3 separate regions of the Homo sapiens genome follow, and all the other regions are linked to region 1. The links are contacts of gene promoters, found by promoter capture Hi-C in blood cells and fetal thymus (Javierre and others, 2016). All regions are on one chromosome and are shown on one strand. The core of a region is centred on a gene start or on the middle of the fragment in contact, and the rest is flanking DNA. Distances in the headings are between cores, read along the strand shown. Region 1 holds the start of RGS7 (regulator of G protein signaling 7). Region 2 holds the start of MAP1LC3C (microtubule associated protein 1 light chain 3 gamma). Region 3 has its middle 120 kb from the start of GREM2.

What was found. Contacts are between HindIII fragments. The CHiCAGO score rates a contact against its expected background, and 5 or more counts as called.
Region 2: the fragment with the promoter of MAP1LC3C here is called in contact with the fragment with the promoter of RGS7 in region 1 in 4 of 17 cell types (neutrophils, naive B cells, fetal thymus and 1 more); the score reaches 6.3 in neutrophils.
Region 3: a contact is called between a fragment that was not itself captured here and the fragment with the promoter of RGS7 in region 1, in 1 of 17 cell types (endothelial precursors). The highest score is 6.4, in endothelial precursors.

Annotation. Positions count from the first base shown.
Region 1 is chr1:241,355,827-241,358,678 of GRCh38, forward strand. It overlaps RGS7 (regulator of G protein signaling 7), which reads right to left and starts at 1,379. Exons shown (of 19, transcript NM_001364886.1): 1 at 1,073-1,379. It overlaps LOC124904601 (a long non-coding RNA gene), which reads left to right and starts at 1,426. Exons shown (of 2, transcript XR_007067052.1): 1 at 1,426-1,656; 2 at 1,997-2,852. RefSeq lists a silencer at 1,231-1,280. The HindIII fragment of the contact is 5,062 bases long and covers 1-2,852 here.
Region 2 is chr1:241,997,663-242,000,514 of GRCh38, forward strand. MAP1LC3C (microtubule associated protein 1 light chain 3 gamma) reads right to left here and starts at 1,436. Exons shown (of 4, transcript NM_001004343.3): 1 at 1,289-1,436; 2 at 1,114-1,169; 3 at 852-958. The coding sequence starts at 1,346. RefSeq lists an enhancer at 1,421-1,946. The HindIII fragment of the contact is 10,018 bases long and covers 1,292-2,852 here.
Region 3 is chr1:240,734,008-240,736,859 of GRCh38, forward strand. No RefSeq gene overlaps it. Among named protein-coding and RNA genes, the nearest start is that of GREM2, 120 kb to the left of the region's middle. The HindIII fragment of the contact is 5,022 bases long and covers 1-2,852 here.

The sequences.
Region 1 (2,852 bases), core at 129-2,628:
CTGCAAAGGGTCAGAGAGACTTCAGTGAGATCCCAGTGGGACTCCCCTGATTCATCATCATCATTCACAGCACCCACCCCACATGGCGCGTTCTTACAAACTGGGGCTGGCTGGAGAAAGTGACACAGGACATGGATTTTTTAAAAAGTGAGTTGACACCTACAATAACCTCAAGGAATTGTAAGAAATTACAATCTTCCAGGTAGAAATAGCCATTTGGTTATTGTTTTAGCTGACTTCATTTTCTGGATACTCATTTTGAGAAGTGTTTGATGCTCACCCTAAAAACTCGTGGGTAGCATTTTCCTAGTACAGAGTTCTCTTCTCTCCCAATACTTGCATCTGAACTTGGTGATGTTTTCCCCAAAGGGTGGAAAGGCAACACCTGGGGGATGCGGTGGGGGAGTGGGGGGCGGGTTAGCACACTTTCTCCTAGGTATCTGTCTAGTGTCCCCACCTGCAGCCCATCAGAGAGGCCCATTCCCGGTGTCATTCTCCAGCGCACGGGCTTCCTCTCTATTCCCCCGGGTCTCCCACACAGAGCCGGAGTATATGCTTCGCCTACTTTCACCTGCCTGCGCTGCCAGCCACCGGCTGCTCTCCTTTCTCCCCACTTCGCTTCGGAAGTCCGGAGGTAATCCTGCCTAATTTTTGCAAGAAGACACCAGAATATGTCCCGGCAACAAGAACTAGTGGGAGGTCAAGCCTTCAGGCCATTTTACCCGGGTCACCGTGGGTAAAAGCCTAACTGCAGAAGCCTCCAGAGCAACCAGCCAAAGAGGAGAAAACAGGCAAGCCCCTGCTCCCCTTGCTCGCTCTCACGGCAGCAGCAAATGGCAGGCGAGCCTGTGCCCCGCGCCGCGGCGGCCGCCGGAGCCGGGCAGCAGTTTCAGCACCGTGGACCGCGGGGTGCGCGCGGCGCCCGTAGCCCAGCCCCGGCGCGGGGCTCCCGGGGGCGGCCGCCCTGCGCCCGCGGACGCTCCCGCTGCGCAGAGCGAGGGCTGGGTGCGGGCCGGGGGCCGGGAGGGCTCTGGGTGGCGCTGCCTCCTCCCCGCCCGCCTTCCCTATTTACCTCCTCCGCCAAGGTCACGGCCCCGCGGCGTCTCCCCTCCCGGGCGGGCTGGGTGCAGGCGGTGTCAGCTGGCGGCAAGCGGAGCAGCGAGGCAGGGTAGCTTCATCACACTCGCGGCGGATGCGGATTCCGCGCCGCCCCGGCTCTAGCTGCTCAGGCGACCGCCACCCTCGCCTCGCCGCCGCCCGTGCACAGGCGGCTCCGGCAGCCGCCACTCGCGCCCGCTCCCCTGGGCCGCCTCGCTGGCTCTCTCCCTCCTCCGCTTCTTCTCCCGGGGACTGGGACCAGCCGAGCGCGCGCGGGAGTCGAGACGCCCGGCCCGTGCGCGCGACTGGGAGGAGGGAGGAGGGGACAGTCACGTGGGACAGGGGCGTCCGAAGGTGCCGGCTCGGATGGGCTCGGCTCGGCCGCCGCCACACCGCCCGGGCCTCCCGGGCCTCCCCGGCCTCCCGCCCTCGCGCCCCTCGGGAGGCTGTAGTCCTGCCCCCGGCGCGGCCAGCCCGCGCTCCCGCACACCCCGCCCGCTCGCCCGCGCGTGTGTACGTGCGCCGGAGGCCTGGAGAGACCGGAGTTTAACGCCCAGTGTAAGCCGGAAAGGGAGGAAGGCTGTGCGATGGGTGGGTGGGTGGTAGGTGGGTGGGTGGTCTAGTGAATGGATGGACAGATGGACGGACGGATGCACGGATGAATGGATGGATGGAGCCCCGTGCAAACCAAGGTTTCATCACGTGCCTAACGACTCCGCTGAAAGTCCCAGGGAAGCAGATGATTTATTATTATTATTATTATTATTATTATTATTATTATTATTATTATTATTATGCTTAAATAACAGAGTAGAGAGATATTGAGACACCCTAGGAATGAAGGAAATGGCCAGGACCAAATGAATCATTCATCCCCGTTTGCCTGCGGTTTTCACAGCTTCTTCCTAAGTTGGAGAAATGGGAAACGATTTGAAAGCTGCCAACCGGAGGTGAAAATCTTGCCACTTGTGAAACTGAAGGAACATCCCCAAGGCCTGGCTTCTCCTTTTAACAGAAGGTGCTCAGAGGAACTTTCCTCTTGCCCACTGCCCTCATCCTCTAGCAATTTTCAAAGAGCTTCTGAGGTGCTGATCCTCCTAGCTATAGTCTTCGTACTGCTGCCACAAATTCTTCTGTAAGGATTAGAATGACATAAAGGAGACAGATCACTTTTGTCTCGGTGGTAGTAAAGCAACCTGTGCCTCTGGCTTTCAGGGGGAAGGGCTGGGCCGCTGTAAATCTAGTTTTCCTTCCTCTCCTGGGCCAGCTGTGGAGGAGAGGGAGGGAGAGAAGGAGAAGATAATCAAGATCAGCTGTAAATCTAGTTTTCCTTCCTCTACTGGGCCAGGTGTGGAGGAGAGGGAGGGACAGAAGGAGAAGATAATCAAGGTCAGCCTTTCCTGACCCCTTGGTCTAAGCAGACTAGACCTTATTGGAGATAACACTTCTACTCAAACAGGGGTCCATGTGGACCAATGTATTACCCCAGCCCCATGCAGGTCTTGTCAGGTTTCTCTCAAGGAACAAATATTTATCTAACCTAGCCCCTGTTCCAAGTACTACAGGAGAAATATCATTGTCCCAAACTACACACACTCTAGTCTGACCTGTCTCCCACTCCAACTCCCCACATCTTTCCACTGTAGCCTCTGGAACTTAGAATCTTCTTCAGCAAAATTCTCTTCGTTTTCGACTTCTCGAAATATTTCTTTAACGTTTTTGCTCTCGCTGAAATCTACTTATCCCTCCTTTAA
Region 2 (2,852 bases), core at 186-2,685, 640 kb after region 1:
GTGTCAAGTGATGTCCTTTATGCTTTAAGAATAGCTGCCTGTTCTTTGCTGTACCTCTGGCTTAACCAAGGGAGGAGTGTGTTTGGGGGATGCTTTTCTCTCTCAGTGTTCTGAGCAGGGAACGTTTCCTTTGGGGAGAAGTCCCCACCCCTAGGCACACATACACTTGGAAAAGGTGCTGGTCTCTGCAACGGACGCGCAGACTCGGTTTCACACAAGATCTGAAAGAAAGGATCTCCCGGCCTAGCTTGAGAGCCAAGACTAACTACTTTAGGAAATTCTTAGAAATGTTGGCAGGTCTTTTTTGTTGTTGTCGTTGTCTGAGGGATTCTCCTTACCTGTTTAAAATAGAGTAATTCTTTTTTTTTTTTTTTTTTTTTTGAGACAGAGTTTCACTCTTGTTGCCCAGGAGTGCAGTGGAACAGTCTCGGCTCACTGTAACCTCCGCCTCCCAGGTTCAAGCGATTCTCCTGCCTCAGCCTCCCAAGTAGCTAGGATTACAGGCACCCGCCACCACGCCTAGCTAATTTTTGTATTTTTAGTAGAGACAGGGTTTCACCACGTTGGCCAGGCTGGTCTCAAACTCCTGACCTCTGCGATCCACCTGCCTCAGCCTCCCAGAGTGCTGGGATTACAGGCATGAGCCACTCCGCCCGGGGTTTAAAATAGAGTAATTCTAAGAGCATCTTTTCAGGGTACTAGTGAATCTAAAAGGTGACTTCAAAAAAATCTCTTTCCTCTCTTCCCCTGACGTGCCCCCATCCCCAAAATAAAACTGCCAAACGAAGAAAGCCCAACAGCCCCGGCGCACCCAGCGCACCTTCCTCCGGGGCACGCTCTGCGCCACCTACCGGATGATGCTGAGGAACTGGGTCATGGTCAGCTCCTGCGGGACCAGGAACTTGGTTTTGTCCAGCGGGGGCAGGAACGTCTCCCTGGGGTAGCGCTCCACTACCACCTGTCAAGAGTGTCAGTCCTTAAGAATGTGACTCAGCGTGAGTGTTAGGAACTTGGAACAGACAGAGGGAAGCTGTTGGCTGCTCTTGGTTTTTCAGAGAACAGGATCGGAACCCCACCCCCACGCCCCCCAGCGGAAGTCCAGTGGTGTCTTACCGGGATTTTGTTGGGGAACTTTGCCCGGATTCCAGCAACTTCCTCTTGTCTGATTGCTGTGAATATTTCAAGCACAAGAGAAGAAGCAAAGATCAAGAAAAGAAGCAAAGATCAAGAGAAGGCCAGATCCGCTCCTCTCTTTAGATAACCCAGAAAGCTACCCCAAGAAATTTACCCAAGCTTTTCCTCTGCTTGAAGGGTCTGACGCTTGGGATTTTCTGTGGAGGCGGCATTGCACTCAGTAGCTGTGTCTGTTTTAAAAAAGAAAAAAAAACTGTCCCGCAACCGGGAACCTAACTCATTCCTCCAGCTGCTTCCAAACTGCCTGCAGGAGCCTGAAGGAGGCCCTTATGTAGGGCTGAGTGACATCAGGCCTCTCCTCTCCCTCCCCTCTCCCCACTCCCCCTCCCTGGGCAGCAGGAGGTCAGTTCTGATGGAAATGGAATCGCCACCTGCTTGCTGGTCAGAGAAAGCCACTTTGTTCATGACCAGTTCAAGATGTTTCTTTGCAAAAGAAATTAGGGTTTGTAATAAAATCATTGGCTGGGCAGCGGACTGTGGAGAGGTAAAACTGCCTTGTGCTGGGATGTTTTTGCCCTTCAGTAGCAAGGGGGGGTCCAAGCTGGATCCACCTCAGCCTGAAGTGTGCTGTGTAGTTCTCACAATGGTCCATGCCCTTTATCACAGAAGGAAACCTATACTAAGAAAGGTGAAGTGATTTGCTCGAGGGCACACAGCAAGTAAGAGAAGCGGTATGGATTAAAACCTAGAGCTGTACACTGGGTGCAGTGGCCCACGCCTGTAATCCCAGCACGTGGGAGGCCGAGGCGGGTGGATCACCTGGCCAACATGCTGAAACCCCATCTCTACTAAAAATACAAAAATTAGCCGGACGTGGTGGCTGGCACCTGTAATCCCACCTACTCAGGAGGCTGAGGCAAGAGAATCGCTTGAACCCAGGATGCGGAGGTTGTAGTGAGCTCAGGTCACACCATTGCACTCCAGCCTCGGCAACAAGAGCGAAACTTCATCTCAAAACAAAACAAAACAAAACAAAAAAAACCCAGAGTTGTTACAAGGAAGTCCAAGTACTACACTCCAGTATATTCTGTCACTTAGTTTTCTCTGGGATAAAAGAAGGAAGGAAGGACAATTGTCCCCAAGATCTTGCTTTTAGAGTTAAGAAACTGGGTCTCTGGTCATACATAGGGGAAACCAAACTCCATTTCTCCTATATTCTCACAACACAGATCACTTTTGACACTAGATGTGTGTGTGTGTGTGTGGGTGGGTGGGGGTTCCCCATACACCGAGCAATCACTTCTACAGTGGACACCAGCTAGGTGTCCTCCAATCCAACTCTGACACTGTCTACCTGGAGACAGCATCAGATCGGGCTGAGGGCTCTGTCCCACAAGACTGTCCCCCACTTTCAATGCCGATTGCAAGCCCCAAGTTGTGTTTGTTGTTTTTTTGCTTGTTTGAAACAGAGTCTTGCTCTGTTGCCCAGGCTGGAATGTAGTGGCACGATCTCAGCTCACTGCAATCTCTGCCTCCTGAGTTCAAGCGATTTCTCCCGAGTAGCTGGGATTACAGGCACATGACACCATGCCTGGCTAATTTGTGTGTTTTTAGTAGAGAGGGGGTTTCGCCATGTTGGCTAGGCTGGTCTGAAACTCCTGACCTTGTGATCCTCCTGCCTTGGCCTCCCAAAGAGCTGGGATCTCATGCGTGAGCCA
Region 3 (2,852 bases), core at 139-2,638, 620 kb before region 1:
AAATTGCAATATTCTACCAAATTAATCAAATTACTGCATGTAGAACATTGTTACTATTTGTTTGCCATCTGAATTGGTTCATTTTATGTGTCAACTGACTGGGCCAGGAGATGCCCAGGTAAAACGTCATTCTGGATGTGTCTGTGAGGATGTTTTGGATGAGATTAACATTTAAATTGGCAGACTCAGTGAAGCAGATTGCTCTCCCTGATGCGAGAGGACCTCATCCAGTCAGTTGAAGGTCTGAGTAGAACAGAATTGCTGGTCATCCCCTGAGTGAGAGGGAATTCTTCCTGCCTGACGGCTATTGAACTGGGACATCAACTTTCTTCTTGTGGCTTGGGAATGAAACTGAAAACATCCATTCTTCCTGGAGTCTTGAGTCTTTGAGCTGGAATTTTATCATCAGCTTTTCTGATTCTCAAGTGTTCAGACTCAGACTGGAACTATACTATTGGTTTTTCTGGTCTCCAGCTGGCTGACTCACCCTGCAGATCTTAGGACTTGTCAGCCTCTGTAATCATGTGAACAAATTCTTTTTTTTAAATTATTTCTTTAATTTTTTATTTCCAAAGGTTATTGGGGAACAGGTGGTGTTTGGTTACATAAGTTCTTTAGTGGTGATTTATGAGATTTTGGTGTACCCATCACCTGAGCAGTATACACTGCACCCAATTTGTAGTCTTTTATCTCTCACCCCCTTCCCACCATTTCCTCCTGAGTTCCCAAAGCCCACTGTGTCATTCTTATGCCTTTGCATCCTCATAGCTTAGCTCCCACTTATGAGTGAGAACATATGATGTTTGGTTTTCCATTCCCGAGTTACTTCACTTGGAATCATAATCTCCAGTCTCAACTAGGTTGCTGCAAATGCCATTAATTAATTCCTTTTTATGGCTGAGTAGTATTCCACCGTGTATACATACCACAGTTTCTTTATCCACGCATTGATTGATGGGCATTTGGGTTGGTTCCATTATTTTGCAGTTGCAAATTGTGCTGCTATAAACATGCATGTGCAAGTATACTTTTTCATATAATGACTTATTTTCCTCTGGGTAGATACCCAGTAGTGGGATTGCTGGATCCAATGGTAGTTCTACTTTTAGTTCTTTAAGGAATCTCCATGCTGTTTTCCATAGTGGTACTAGTTTACATTCCCACCAGCAGTGTAGAAGTCATGGGAACAAATTCTTTAAAATAAATTTCTTTATAGATGCACATTCCTATTGGTTCTGGTTTTTTGTTTTCCCTGGAGGGGCCTGACTAATAATACACCATCTGGCATTTACTTTTTCTTCTTAACAGTAACCTAGTCTCTTTTTTGGAAATTACCTCACCCATAATACATGCAGTCAATCACAGTGGGACTTCAGGTGCCTGCAATCCTATTACCAAGACTAAACTGGATGCTTTTTTCATTAGATAATTGTAAAGGTAAAAACGTTAACAAGATGAAAAATAATACCTACAAAACCCTGACTCTGGGCCAGGCACTGTTCTGTATTATTTGTATTCACTCTTTTAATCACACAGCAACCATTATGCTCATTTTTTAAAAAGTGAAACTGAGACACAGGAAGTGAAATGCTAATGGTGGGGCCAGGATTTGAGCCGTAAACATTCTGACTGCAGAGATTGTGAAGAACCAAATAAGAGTCTTGGATTTTTACCCAGAACACAGCTAGAAGCCATGAAGAGGTTTATTTTAGGAACCTCGTATAATCAGATTAGGTATTTTTTGAAACCTCCCATCTATATTTATGTGGCTATGTTCACCTGAAGAGGTGGCCCAGAAGCAGTGAAGGCAGCCCAGACAAGAAATATTATATTCACTGCTTCTGGGCAGCCTTCGCTGGTCAACATATCCAGATACAATAGGAGTTGGATGGCCGGGCGCAGTGGCTCACACCTGTAATCCCAGCACTTCGGGAGGCCAAGGTGGGCAGATCACTTGAAGTAATGAGTTCGAGACCAGCCTGGCCAACATGGCAAAACCCTGTCTCTACTAAAAATACGAAAATTAGCCAGGCATGGTAGCGGGTGCCTGTAGTCCCAGCTACTCAAGAGGCTGAGGCAGGAGAATCACCTGAGCCTAGGAGGCAGAGGCTGCAGTATGCAGAGATCAAACCACAGCACTCCAGCCTGGGCTGCAGAGTGAGACTCCTTCTAAAAAAAAGAAAAGAAAAAAAGACTTGGAGGAGTCTTGACTGGGACCGGGACCTCATTTGGGCTACTCATTCTAGCAGATCTACCTCTTTATTTCCAAAAACACTAATTAAAGCCCAGCACCCCAAATAAGGGCTTTCTCTCATTAGCTCCCAAATTACCACCTGACAGACTTGTGACTTCCACTCAGGTTGTTGGAAACATTCTGCCAGGATCATGGTGCAGAGGGCTGGAGAGTGGGCACATGGTTGGAGCTCTCTCTCATTGCCTTACAGCCAAGGTGCAGGGCCTGCGCTCCTGCTGTCGAGGCTGCCTGGTGGATTCAGATCCAACCTGATGGTCTAGTTTCCCCTCAGGTGTGTGAGTCCCGACAGGCTTCCCAAATTCTTTTTTTGCGAGTTAACTAGAATGGGTTTCTTTGCTTGCAACTGAAGAATTCAGACTAATGTTCTGAGTTATTTGTTTAAGACTTTAGGATATATGTTTAAATATAACACAATTGGCCCAGCATGGTGGCTTGCGCCTGTAATCCCAGCACTTTGGGAGGCCAAAGGAGTTCGAGACCAGCCTGGCCAACATGACGAAACCCCATGTCTACTCAAAATACAAAAACTAGCTGGGCCTGTAATCCCAGTTACTCAGGAGGCTAAGGCAGGAGAATCACTTGAACCCGGGAGGCAGAG